Regions from separate parts of the Homo sapiens genome. Here regions 2, 3, 4 and 5 are each linked to region 1. Evidence: promoter capture Hi-C in 16 types of primary human blood cells and fetal thymus (Javierre and others, 2016). All regions are on one chromosome and are shown on one strand. Each heading gives the region's core, a stretch centred on a gene start or on the middle of the fragment in contact. The rest is flanking DNA. Distances are from core to core; before and after follow the strand shown.

The links. Contacts are between HindIII fragments. The CHiCAGO score rates a contact against its expected background, and 5 or more counts as called.
Region 2: a contact is called between a fragment that was not itself captured here and the fragment with the promoter of MAP2 in region 1, in 6 of 17 cell types (endothelial precursors, M0 macrophages, megakaryocytes and 3 more). The highest score is 7.3, in endothelial precursors.
Region 3: a contact is called between a fragment that was not itself captured here and the fragment with the promoter of MAP2 in region 1, in 6 of 17 cell types (M2 macrophages, M0 macrophages, M1 macrophages and 3 more). The highest score is 17.3, in M2 macrophages.
Region 4: a contact is called between a fragment that was not itself captured here and the fragment with the promoter of MAP2 in region 1, in 6 of 17 cell types (M0 macrophages, erythroblasts, M2 macrophages and 3 more). The highest score is 21.3, in M0 macrophages.
Region 5: a contact is called between a fragment that was not itself captured here and the fragment with the promoter of MAP2 in region 1, in 2 of 17 cell types (M2 macrophages and megakaryocytes). The highest score is 5.9, in M2 macrophages.

The regions. Positions count from the first base shown.
Region 1 is chr2:209,422,621-209,425,377 of GRCh38, reverse strand. MAP2 (microtubule associated protein 2) reads right to left here and starts at 1,331. Exons shown (of 16, transcript NM_001375505.1): 1 at 1,102-1,331. RefSeq lists a silencer at 1,261-1,650. The HindIII fragment of the contact is 4,087 bases long and covers 166-2,757 here.
Region 2 is chr2:208,367,100-208,369,856 of GRCh38, reverse strand. It overlaps a transcript of PTH2R not described here. Among named protein-coding and RNA genes, the nearest start is that of PTH2R, 38 kb to the left of the region's middle. The HindIII fragment of the contact is 6,349 bases long and covers 1-2,757 here.
Region 3 is chr2:208,384,100-208,386,856 of GRCh38, reverse strand. It overlaps a transcript of PTH2R not described here. Among named protein-coding and RNA genes, the nearest start is that of PTH2R, 21 kb to the left of the region's middle. The HindIII fragment of the contact is 3,994 bases long and covers 1-2,757 here.
Region 4 is chr2:208,401,825-208,404,581 of GRCh38, reverse strand. All of the region lies in intron 1 of LOC105373855 (a long non-coding RNA gene), which reads left to right. It also overlaps a transcript of PTH2R not described here. Among named protein-coding and RNA genes, the nearest start is that of PTH2R, 3.6 kb to the left of the region's middle. The HindIII fragment of the contact is 1,934 bases long and covers 426-2,359 here.
Region 5 is chr2:208,418,605-208,421,361 of GRCh38, reverse strand. All of the region lies in intron 1 of PTH2R (parathyroid hormone 2 receptor), which reads right to left. Among named protein-coding and RNA genes, the nearest start is that of PTH2R, 13 kb to the right of the region's middle. The HindIII fragment of the contact is 3,446 bases long and covers 1-2,757 here.

The DNA.
Region 1 (2,757 bases), core at 82-2,581:
GTATTATACATTTGTGTGCATACTTGTGTGTTTAGGCATTTAAACAAAAACCCTTTACACCGGACTCAATTTTAAAGCGTCTATGTCCTGGAAGCATTGTGCTAAGAGCTTACGACAGATGGCACACAGCAATTGTCACAAACGGGCTTGTTGCTAATGAAAGCTTTTTATTTTCTGACAAAAATCCTGAAGTCCGGATGCCAGGCAGAATAACATTAATTTCCAGTTTTCAAGGATTTTTTTTCTGACTCCATCCATACCCCTCCCCCTATACACACCCAAATATACAGCTCCCCACTCCTAGCCCCCCACACACTCTTTCTTGAAATTTCCATCCTTAAACAAAAGACGAGGTGGGGGAAGGCAGGCAGCCAGCACTGCAGTCCTCCTCTCCCCACCAAAAAAGCCTTTTAAAAAGAAAAGGAAGAAAAGAATAGATGCACTGTAGATTCAGAGGTCCACCCCCAACGTTTAAAAAGAAAAACGACTGTGTGGAAGCCTAACCAGACTCATTTCTTCGTGCCCCGCCCTCCAACACCACCAGGCATTTATTTTTCATTTTCCTACAATTATAAATATCAGTCCTCCTCTCCCAGCTGTTTCTGAAGGAATTACAGAGAAACATGATTTGAAATGGACAAGGCTTCCCTCACTCACTCACTTCCCAGTGTGCAGTTCTCTGCAGCTGGATGAACAAAAAAATCCCCTACCTCGATTTCCTATTTTCCACTATCTTTGTAGAATCCACTCCCCTTCTTTCCACAGCGCAGGTAATACTGGCTTTCGATACACGTATTCTAACCTGGCGTAAGTTTTCAGTTGTTTCAAAGTGGTACCTAACAAGCTCACTCGCTCTTCTACGAAGCCAGGGCTCAGGTACCAGTAGCGTCCGGCCCCCTGCTCCGCAGTGACACCTGGAGAGGACAGGCCCGAATCTTCCGCCAGGTGCACGGCTGGCCACTCGACCAACTACCAGACTGCCTGCTGCGAGTCCCAGAGGACGAGACACAACCCCTCCCCATTCCTATCTCTTTCTACTCAGAGACCGAGGCAAAAGGAGAGGCGCCCTACATAGAGCCAGAGGTGGGGACGGTCTCTTACCTGGGCGCAGAAACTGGATGCACCCGCGGTCGCGACTGCCACCGCTCACGGACTTAGCGCCCTCCGGAGAAAAAGGAGAGGGGTAGAAGGGTTAGGGGAAGAAGGGGAGGGGGGGGAAAAAGAAGGAGAAGGAAGAGAAAGAAGCGGAAGGGAAGTAAAGGAAGAGAGGATGCTGCTGCTGCTGCTGCTGCTGCCCAGAGCCCGCGCAGCCCGAGCGCCCGCCCCAGACTGAGAGCGGCGCCCCCAGCCGGCTCCCAGCGCAGCAGCTCCGCCTCGGCCCCTCCTCCCCGCCCCGCGCAGGTCCCGCCCCGCGCAGGTCCCGCCAGACTCCGCGAGCCCGTGGGCGGCCGCGGCGGGGCTGGCGCTGCCACCGCCGCAGTGTCCGGGAGGGGGAGCACGACCGCTTCGCCTTCTGCCGCAGCCGCCGGCCGCCAGGCGGGGACCGCGAGGTGGGAGCCTCGGAGAGCCCCGCCCAGCCGCTGGCCCGGGCCTTCTCCAGAGCCCTGGTCCCCTCCCGCGACAAAGTGAGGCCAGTGCCCGGGCGGCGGGACAGGCGGGCCTTCCTCACTGGCGTCCTTGGAAAATCGGGGGCAACAGCTTTAGTCTCTCGGGAGCAACCTCCGCAGACCCCCTGCTTCCCTCCCCTGTGTCGCTATGAGGCGGGGTTGCCAGTGGCACCTCACCAGGAAAGCTCACTGGCCTCGCCTCACAAACCCAACCACAGGTGCATCCAGAAAAGACAAAGGAATGTGGGGCGCTTGAGAACATAGAACAACTCTTGTCAGCACTAAAGGAGCAATGGCTGAGGGAGTAGAGAATTCTAGACCCAGCTCTGTCACGAATTAGATTCATTCATTTATTGAGTCAACGAATGTTTATTGACACCTACTATGTGTCAGGCACTCTTCTAAGCATTAGAAACATCAGTGACAGACCTTTCCCACAACCCTAATAAGAAAGATCCCCTCCCTTTATAGTTATTACATTCTAGATAGCCAGACGTATGCTCTAGAGACAGTTCACTTAATCTAACTCTCAGTGTATTCATGTGTCATATGAGAACTAAAAATGACAGCCCAATTCTCTTATGCTTAAAAAGATAATGAATATGAAGGATCTTTGAAGAATGATACAAATACAATGAATTAGAAAGCACGGAAAGTGTTGACCTTGAAATATCACCCTTAAAAAAATTGCCTCTTAAATGCTTTTGAAAGTGAAATGACCACCTGAGAAAACAAATGATTCTTTACCATTCGTACTAAGGAGTATGAATCTTCATAATCAGAGAGCAGCATTTTATTGTAAGTAAGAAAAGTAAGATGCAACTTAGAATTACTTCGAGTGTCTATATCAAGTACTGACAAGGTGTTTTTAAGGTCAGCCAACATACTGAGGTGTGGCTTGTACAGTCTTCACAGTGCTGATGAAACAGCAGCCATAATGTGGTTCTGTCACTTAAATTAACCACAGAATCTTAGAACCTAGAACATTAGAGTTGATGTTTTAGGCAGCTGGTCTAATTTCCTCCATTTTCAGATGGAAAGAGACCCAATGGTGGGAGCCTGCAAGGATTAGAAACCATCACAGAGGAAGCTGTGAAAGCCTGCCCTCCCCAGTCACACCCAGTGCTCTGTGTCCTGCCTCCCCCGCTCT
Region 2 (2,757 bases), core at 174-2,673, 1.1 Mb after region 1:
AAGTGCGTTGTCTATGATGTCTCATCAGGTGCATCTACATGGCATTAATTTATATATAAAAGAACCCCAGTTGTAATGTGGCTAGCATTCAAAGTGGGATATCTGGTAAGGGAAGGCACCAGATATCCAACTTCACATTTCTCTGACCACTTAGGTGGGAACCTTTTATATATCTTATTGCTACATAAAAATGAGACCAGGCCAGGCACAGTGGCTCACGCTTGTAATCCCAGCACTTTGGGAGGCCGAGGCTGGCGGATCACTTGAGGTGAAGACCAGCCTGGCCAACATGGAGAAATCCTGTCTCTACTAAAACTACAAAAATAAGCCGGGCATGGTGGTGGGCACCTGTACTCCCAGCTACTCGGGAGACTGAGGCAGGAGAATCGCTTGAACCGGAAGGTGGAGGGTGCAGTGAGCTGAGATTGTGCCACTGCCCTCCAGCCTGGGTAACAGAGTGAGATTCCTTCTAAAAAAAAAAAAAAAGAGAGAGAGACCAGTGTTGTTTACAGACAAGGTCATAGTGGTGGAACCTGTGAACAACCAAGTTGGAATTCTGTGTCTTTCACAACCCTTATCATCAATCATGTTGGCATCTGCACATCTTCACTTCCAATGTGCTTCTGTTAGGCTATGAGGGTAAAACAGGTTGTGAAACACCTGGCAGAGAAACCCTTTAATTTAGCCTTGGTTACTATAGAAATGTATTTTATTTATTGACCAAGTTAAGGTCCATCCATCCAACTATAGTCATGGGTGCTGGTCAAGCCAACTAGGGGAACACTTGAGCTATTCCATATCCCACTACTTTTTCCTACAAACCAGGAATATTATCCTGTAATCTGACATTCACTCACATTGAAATACTTAGTTATAATCCAAGTAACAATGACAGTGGAGGGTTGTTTAGTGCCATCTGTGAAGCCAAATCACAGAATTTGATTGCAATACATTTTTGAAATGTTACCCAGAAAAGGTCCAGTACTGTATTTATTTTCAATGTAGAGAGATTTCCTTCCAATAGTCTTACTTGGGTAAAGCACTGACCTTGAGCTTCCATGGAGGCTTCCCAGTGCCAAATTAATCTACCAGAGGAGGAGACAGAGTGACTTTGTCTTCCTGCTTATGGATACCATATGCTTTTATATATCCATTGTCCAGAATGGGTTCACCAGGTATATTTACATTGGTAGGAACAAAAACTCTTCTGCATTATGTAGATGTTAACCTAACCAGTAACCAGATTAACTATTTAAGGTGGCCAGGCTTTGAAAGATTGGAACAAGCAGGTGTTGGGGTAGTGCCAGAATTGTCAAAAAACAAAAAACAAAAACAAAAAAAAAACAGTTAAGGGTTAGTTGAGGCAAGATCCACTTTGAAAGGGATACCAATGTAGAGGAACAGCATGGAGAACAGAGAGGTGAATGGTGGGGCAGTATAAGAATACTTGCTTTGTCAATTAGGATGGCAGCTAAGTCTATTGCATATAAGCATGGAGGAATGCCTGATGCTACTTAACATGAGAAAGGTACTGTGGGACATATCTAGGTTGACATGAGAAATATGTTATGGGACAAAAAGATTGTCCTAAGATACCCACAACAATCCCATCATTTTCACAGTAATATAGGTAAAAAAGATTGTCAAAGTTGGGTAGTCGAAGGGCTGGGGTGTGGACAATGCTTCCAAGGAGGCTGGTGCCTCAGAGTACCAGGTAAAGTGCTCTGTGGTTGTATCTAAGAGGACAGCATATAAAGGTTAGACATGGGCAGCAAAATTGGGAATCCATTGGCAATATCCAGTTGCTCCTAAAAATTCACGTAATTGTTTGTCTTTGAGAGATAATGAATAAAATTGATTCAAGGCATTTTGGGACGAGTTTTTGAGTACCCTAAAATATTTTATGGCCTAAGTAGGTAAGAATTTTTTGTACCTGTTGGCATTTGGACCTGGAAGATTTATAACCTTAGTCAGTCAGTGCCTTAAGGTGAGTAAGGGAGTCCAGAAGAGCACCCTGTTTGCTTTGGTTGCAAAGTAGCAGGTCATCAACATATTGGAAACAAAGGGAACCTTGAGTGATTGTCATAGAGTCTAATTTGACTTTGAGAACTTAGAAAAATATTGAGAGGTATTCACAATATCCTGGAGGTATGCAAGTCCATGTTAACTGTTTCTTCTTAAATTTGAGGCTGGGCACAGTGGCTCATGCCTGTAATCCTAGCACTTTGGGAGGCCAAGGCAGGCAGATCACCTGAGGTCAGGAGTTCAAGATCAGCCTGGCCAATATGGTGAAAACCCATCTCTACTAAAAACACAAAAATTAGCCAGAAATCGCTTGAGTCTGGGAGGCGGAGGTTGCAGTGAGCCGAGATTGTGCCACTGCACTTCAGCCTGGGTGACAGTGACTCTGTCTCAAAAAAAAAAAAAAAAAAGAAAGAGAAAAAAATAAAAACTTTAGCTGAATTAAATTTGAAGGAGTGAAGCCAGGTGCAGTGGCTCACATCTGTAATCTCAGCACTTTGGGAGGCTGAGGTCAGGAGTTCGAGACCAGCCTGGCCAACATGGCGAAACCCTGTCTCTACTAAAAATAGAAAAATTAGCTGGGCATGGTGGCATGTGCCTGTAATCTCAGCTACTCAGGAGGCTGAGGCAGGAGAATCGCTTGAACCCAGGAGGCAGAGGCTGCAGTGAGCAGAGACTGCACCATTGCACTCCAACTTGGGCAACAAGGGTGAAACTCAATCTCAAAAAAAAAAA
Region 3 (2,757 bases), core at 101-2,600, 1.0 Mb after region 1:
TATTTGGAGATGGTGGCATTAGGAGGTAATTAGGTCATGGTGGATAGAACTCTCATCATGGGATTAGTGTCCTTAGGCACTTCCTCCCTTCCCTCCCTCTGTTCCTCCTACACTATGTGAGAATACAGCGAGAAATCTGTGATTTGCAAACCATGGGGAGCTGCAAAAGAGGAAGACTGCTCTCACCAGAAACTAATCTTGACCTTGGATTTCCCAGACTCCAGAACTGTGAGAAACAAATGTCTGCCGTTTAAGCCACACAGTCTATAGTATTTTGTTATAACAACCCAACCTGACTATTATGCATATTAGCAGGTTCTGTCTGTATCACACACACACACACGCACACACACAAACACATACATCGACTGATTGCAGTGTGCCAGGTATTGTGCTAAGAGCTCCACATATTTATGCCTTATAACTCAATTAGGTATTGACACAGATACAGTCAAGATACAGTACACAAGATATGTGAAACACAGATGCAATTATACAGCTGTACTGAATCTACATCAATACCATATATATAGCTATCTGCTTCATCATCTATGCATATCTACATCCAAGTCCATCCATCACAGCACAAACACAGAGTGACAGATGTATACACGTATCAATGAGAGTTATGTGAGATGTCTCCTCAGAGCTTAAAATGATGTCAAGAACATGAGTATGATGATGAGCACAAGTCTAAATCTGACTTTCTCTAGAATAAGGTTATTGGGACACTGTCTTGAGCCAGATATATGGAATGAATTAAAGATTTGATTATTTGAATATATTCTAGAACTTTCTGTATCTGAAGAGATGGAGGAAACTCAAGAGTAGAGAACAGTAATTTAGCTGCTTAAAACTATTGCCAGCAGAATATGGTGATGATGAATGCCCAGATTTGTGGATCTCTGAGTCAGGATAGGGGTGAACAATATCTTTATATGTTTCAATTGAGGAGGGATGCTTTGGTTAATATGAAAACGCTCTTTGAAGTTTTTGCTCAATTGACCCAGTACAATTTTGACAATAAATTTTCTTTCAAAGTTGGTTTTCTTATCTTCTGTGTTTTATTCTGTGTCTAAGTCTTCACAGGTCCTTTACAAGTTGGGAGTGGCCACATCAAGGCTGAAAGCCAGATTGAATTTCAAATCCAGAGCCCTACAAATACATTTGACTTAAGAGACTGTCTGGTACTACGTCATTGAAAAATTAGAGAATGGACCACTACAAAAAAGATGACAGTCCAGGATAGAATTGCAGCATTTTCATGACTTTGCATTGCTCTGATACCTCTGAACCAGGTCAAGCCTTCTCCTAGATGACCACAGATCTTTGTGCAGCAAAGTCTAGAAGTGGAAATGCTTGGTCAAGCCTAAGAACATTTTTAGAATTTCTATTATGTACACCAGTGGCCAGGAAAGGTGTGTTGATTTGCAATCCTATCCATAAAATTTACATAATAATTGTTAAAGTATTAATTTGACAAGCAACAAGGGTATTATTATTCTAATTTGCATTTCTTTGAATATTAGTGAAGGGAACTTTTTGATGTGTTTACTGACCACACTTACTGCTCACTTTTTAAATAACTTGTTCGTGTCCTTTACTCAAAAGGCCATTTTTTAAATCATCATAGCACACTATAATTAAATTTAAAAACACAGTTTCTTGGAACAGATCATTTCCCTGTATATTTTAAAGAAAGGTACTACAAAAAGGTATTAACACTATCAGGTAGTAAATGTAACTTGGAGAATAAGAAGTACAAAGAAAATTCTTCCATCCATTTTCTTAAAGTACAGGGCTTTTATTTCTGTTCTAAGAAGGGAGTGGTAGAAAAAAGGAGTGTTTTTCAAATGTTTGTGCTATTTTTGCTTAGGCTTTTTTATTCTAATTCTAAGCATTGAAACAGAATCAGTTTGTTGTGTATGACTTAAGAGATTGTCTGGTAATATGTGGTTGAAAATTAGAGAATGGACCGCTGCAAAAAGATGAGAGCCCAGAATAGAACTGCAGCACTTCCGTGACTTTACATTGCTCTGACACCTCTGAACCAGGTCAGGCATTCCCTAGATGACCACAGATGTTTATGCAGCAAAGTCTGGAAGTGGAAATGCTTGCTCAAAACATAAGAACATTTTAATTTCTCCTTTTGAAGTTATCACCCGAATGTGTAATTGTTTTATGGGACTATGTGCCTTTTTCATTTAAATAACAGTTCGTCTATCTAATAGAAAAAAAATTCTCAAAAGAAAACTGTGTGTGTTTAAAGAAACTAGCACTCAGCAGCAGCACTGAATTGACAATCTTTTTTACACTAAATTCTTATCAAGGGACCCATTCCTTGAGGGAGAGGTAATAGAATGGTAAGGTGTTTGGGGTTTACCAGTCCTGCATACCAAGATCAGGCTGAGAACACCTTTCATTATGTTTCTTCTCAAATCTTCAGAGCCTCTAGTTAGCACTCCTCAAACTGGATATCACGATCCTTCATACTTTCATGCATTTCTCCACACTGTCATGCCCTATTCTTACAGGCTTTTCAGACACAAACACTCAATTCTCCTGAAATCCACTGGCATAACTTCTTGATGTGAGATGTCCTCCCCGTCTCTTTCTACCAATCCAAACCCTCACCAATCCTCACCTTCACCCGGAAACCTGCTCTAACCAGTTCAGCCTACACTGAACTCACTTTGCTAAACTGCTATTGCACTTGTTTTCTGTGCCACACATGGTATTGCTTAGTCACATGCTCTC
Region 4 (2,757 bases), core at 143-2,642, 1.0 Mb after region 1:
CAATGTCGAGGAAACTTTTATCAGCTGTACAGTTATACAAATGACAGTAAGCTTGGTATTTGCAAAATACTTTCATATACACTATTACATTCCATTTATAATTATTAATATGCAAAGCCTATTATGGAAATACTCAGTAATTAATTTGTAGCTTAAGGGAAAATAATGAAAAGGAAGCAATCGCCAATCTTAAAGTTTCCCTACTGAGGATTAAAGAAAATTGTTAAATTCAAGGCCCACCTCAGTCAAGATAAAGCCTGAAGAAAATTAAGAAGTTGGACTTATGTGCTTGGTACCATGCCATTTCCTCTCTCTTAAATCTACACTGCCCTACTTGTTAAATTACCAATGTTCTGTCTTTGTTTCTCAAATAATTAGATGAGAACTTTCTTCTCAGTAGCCAACTAACAGCCCCAACTCAAGCTTGTCCTCCTAAGACTTAATGTTCTTCTTCTCTCTGTTCTCCCCTTACACTCTCTGACTGTAGAGGTTTTAAAATATGCCCCCAAAACTCTTGGACACACACTTTTCATTGAGAGGTGAGGGCCTATGTCTCCTTCCCATGATTATGGGCTCTATGACTGCTTGACCTATAGAATATAGTGGAAATAAACTCTGGCCTTAAGAAACTGGCAGCTTCTACTTCTAGGCTCTAGGACTTCCTTTCAGTCTTGGAATTTAGCCACCATGCTGTGAGGAAGTCTGAGACGCCCATAGAGAAGCCCAGTGCAGGCAACTGAAGATCTCAGGTCTCAATCCTAACCACTGTTCCAGGCAACAACCAGTGGCAACTCATCAGCCCTATGAATGAGCCATGTTGGAACTGAATCCTCTAACCCAAGCTCAGCTGCCTCAGTTGATACCAACTTAAGCAGAGAAGAGCCTGTCCAAATTACAGATTTCTGAGCTATGTAAGTGGTTGTACTTACTTTAAGTCATTAAGATTGGGGGTAGCTTGCTACACACCAATAATAACTGAACACCATCCTGTCATTGAACTCCCGTGCTTGCAGTGTGAAATCTAGCTGCTAGCATCTGATGTGAGAGCAATGTGATTTCATTAATTGTTAGATCAGTTAGCACCAGGATTTAATCCTGTCCAAATGCTAACTGGACAAATAGCCCCTTCTGCTTTTTGTACCTCCATTTTGTCTTTCTAAAATTAAATGGCTTTCTCAGAGTTGACACACTCTTCTGTCAAGAATTTAGGAGAGCTGCAAGTCTTCTCTAGAAATCCCATAGGATTTTAGTATGTGAAAAAATCATTTAACTTCTTCCCAATACTTAAATCATCCCTACATATGTATAGCATATTTCCTCAATAAAAAAATTCTAATCATGAAAATCTTACTGCCTCCATGGAAAACGTCTGACTGAACTAGCCAATATCATGGATTAAATGGCTATAATTTGCTGGCTATAACAATAGCTCATATTTTTAACATATTTTAACCAATTTCTTTCATAAATCTACATTCTGCAAAATATTTGCATCCAGCAAAATATCCTGATTCCCCAAACAAGCCTTAGAGATACATAAACTAAAATATCCATTTTAGGGGTAGTACCTATTTAGATGAGGAAACTATAACTCAGAAAGAAGCTAAATGATGTGCAGAAGGACACACGGCAGCCAGTGAAGACTTCAGCTTAGGTCTTCTGTTTCCACATTTATCACTTTTTCTACTATTCTACCGTGCCCCTATAGAATGCGCTTTAGCATTTCCATAGAACTTCACAGATGTACTAAGCACCTTCTCATTCATTTTCTCATTTCCCCACAGAGATAAGTTCCCAATAGAATTACATTTTTAATCCTTGTTAAACCAAAGGATCACTCAACATTACAGGCAGTATGACATATCTATGAGCAATTTATGTTGAGTCTTTCAGCACACGAAGGCATATGCTCCCAAGAATGTACCAAATACCACAAGAAAGAGAAATTTCACCTAGATAAGTAACAACCCTTTAATTTGGAGATGGATTAGGAAGGAACATTGAAAATGTCAATCTAGTTGTTTCTTTATCACTTAAAATAAGTACAAGAAACCTTGAAAAATAAAATTTGATTGAGGACTTTTTAAGATGTAGGGAGCTATGACATTTTGTTAGCAATTTATACTAGGTACTTTCTAGACAAGAAAGACCACTGTAAAAAGTAAATATTGATAAAAACAACAAAAAATGGAACATACTGGTTTTCTCCTAAAGAATTTATATGACAAAGCAAAATATCAACATGGACAAAATAACATAATATAAAAATAGCTACAGGCTGCAGAGGGAGGGACTGATTACTTTGAGGCTAAGGTTACTTGAAGAAGTCTTCCAGGATAGTGAGAAAATCTGCAAAGCTTCTCAGAAGCTATGACAAAGGGAAAGGGCATTTTTAAGTGTTTTGAATGGCAAAAGCACACCAAGAAACTGGGTGACTTATATAATGTGCAAAAACAGGAAGAAAACTGCCTTGTTGGTAAAAATAGGAAAGTGAGGAGTAGCAGGAACTGGGGTCCCTCAAAGCCTGGCTAAGACATGGCATTGCAATGAATGGTATGGTAGCCAGTCATGTGCCACCAAATGGCTGTGATACAAAAATGTTTTTGTAGGAAAAAGTGTTCTGTTGGCTCTTGTAGAACAGGTGCAGTGGAGAGGAACCAGGGAGCTGTGTAAGGGGACAACCTCTAATAACAACAACACACTGTGGCTAGCGTCTCTTAGGCACCAGAGCTTCAAGGATAATGATCCTGTCCTGTT
Region 5 (2,757 bases), core at 177-2,676, 1.0 Mb after region 1:
AATATGAAAATGTCTTGGCTTCTTAAGTTTTTAATCCTTTCATATAATGAACTCTAATTCAAACTAAATCTGAAGATCAGTTGATTTTGCACATTTGGCTACAAATTCTAAAAATCCCCACGACCCTATTCATGCAAGAAGCAAACTGAAAATGATTTAAGAAAAACTTGTATCTATCTGTGGTATGGCTCATACACAGTTAAATGAAAACATTAAGAATGCGATCACATTGAGCTGTCATCCTTCAAAGCTATTACTCATCCTTTTCTCTTATATTTTAATTAACTACATGTGAATTTATTATAGATATTTATAGAGCTCCAATTATACTTAGAAACAAAGCACGGTTAAATTTTTAAGAGTCATATAATGATTACAGAGACAAAAAACCAATTAGTAGTTGCCAGGTGTTGCAGGGAAGGGAGAAGTAAGTGGTTGTGGCTATGAAAGGATTCCTGTGCTGGAACTATTGTATATCTTCACTGTGGTGGTGATCACATGCAACTTTACATGTGATAAAACTGCATAAACTAAATACATGTGCACACACACAAGTATGTATAAAACCAATGGAATCTGCATAAGACAGAGGGATTATATCAATGTCAATTTCCTGATTGTAATATTGTACTACAGTAATGAAAGATGTTACCATTGAAAGAAACTACGTGAAAGGTATTTAGTGTCTGTATTACTTCTTACACTGCATGTGAATCTATAATTCTCTCAAAATACAGATTTTTAAAAATTCATCTGCTAAAGTTTTTAAGGAATTGTTTAGTTTAATGACTATAACCATGAAAAACACCAATTAAATTTTAAGTTAATTATAAATTAAGTGCAATATAGTATTTTGAGCTAAAGTAAGGTCAAATATATTAAGACTACTTCATTAGCAAAAAAAAATTGAGAGCAACATTCTGCTGGCAAATATGTGTGGAAAAAATAGCCTCATACAATGCTCATGGGAATGTAAAATGTTTCCACTGCTATGGAGAAGAAATAGGCAAAATTGAAAAAGTCCTAAATGTACATTTATCTTTTGACTTCACTTTTTTTTTCTTTTTTTTTTAATTATTATACTTTAAGTTTTAGGGTACATGTGCACAATGTGCAGGTTTGTTACATATGTATACATGTGCCATGTTGCTGTGCTGCACCCATTAACTCGTCATTTAGCATTAAGTATATCTCCTAATGCTATCCCTCCCCACTCCCCCCACCCCACAACAGTCCCCGGTGTGTGATGTTCCCCTTCCTGTGTCCATGTGTTCTCATTGTTCAATTCCCACCTATAAGTGAGAACATGCGGTGTTTGGTTTTTTGTCCTTGCAATAGTTTGCTGAGAATGATGGTTTCCAGCTTCATCCATGTCCCTACAAAGGACAGGAACTCATCATTTTTTATGGCTGCATAGTATTCCACAGTGTATATGTGCCACATTTTCTTAATCCAGTCTATCATTGTTGGACATTTGGGTTGGTTCCAAGTCTTTGCTATTGTGAATAGTGCCGCAATAAACATACGTGAGCATGTGTCTTTATAGCAGCATGATTTAAAAAACAAGCAATGGAGAAAGGATTCCCTGTTTAATAAATGGTGCTGGGAAAACTGGCTAGCCATATGTAGAAAGCTGAACTGGATCCCTTCCTTACACCTTATACAAAAATTAATTCAAGATGGATTAAAGACTTAAATGTTAGACCTAAAACCATAAAAACCCTAGAAGAAAACCTAGGGAATACCATTCAGGACATAGGCACGGGCAAGGACTTCATGTCTAAAACACCAAAAGCAATGGCAACAAAAGCCAAAATTGACAAATGGGATCTAATTAAACTAAACAGCTTCTGCACAGCAAAAGAAACCACCACCAGAGTAAACAGGCAACCTACAGAATGGGAGAAAATTTTTGCAACCTACTCATCTGACAAAGGGCTAATATCCAGAATCTACAATGAACTCAAACAAATTTACAAGAAAAAAACAAACAACCCCATCAAAAAGTGGGCGAAGCACATGAACAGACACTTCTCAAAAGAAGACATTTACACAGCAAATAAAAACACATGAAAAAATGCTCAGCATCACTGGCCATCAGAGAAATGCAAATCAAAACCACAATGAGATACCATCTCACACCAGTTAGAATGGCAATCATTAAAAAGTCAGGAAACAACAGGTGCTGGAGAGGATGTGGAGAAATAGGAACACCTTTACACTGTTGGTGGGACTGTAAACTAGTTCAACCATTGTGGAAGTTGGTATGGCGATTGCTCAGGAATCTAGAACTAGAAATACCATTTGACCCAGCCATCCCATTACTGGGTATATACCCAAAGGATTGACTTCACTTTTAGGGATTTACATTTAAGTTATAGCTTCAACAATATGAAAATACATAAAGACTATACAGTGTAGTATTATTTATACATGTAAAATATTAGATAGAAAAAACTAAATGCCCACACATTTGGTACTTCTACAAAATAGGCTATTATGAAGCTATAAAAAAGAGTGAGAAAACTCTATGACCTAACATGATTTCCAGGATGTATTGTGAAGTAAGAAAAACAAAATGCAGAGAGTATAAATTGAATGCTACCTTTTGTGCAAAAAAAGAGGGAAAATATACAGATACATTTTTGTAAAACAAAACTCAAAGATAAACCAGAAAACTATGAAATTTTTTATCTTATTTCTCCCTTTAAGTGGAATATTTCTAACTACCTCATTTAGTATAATTTTTATGATAAT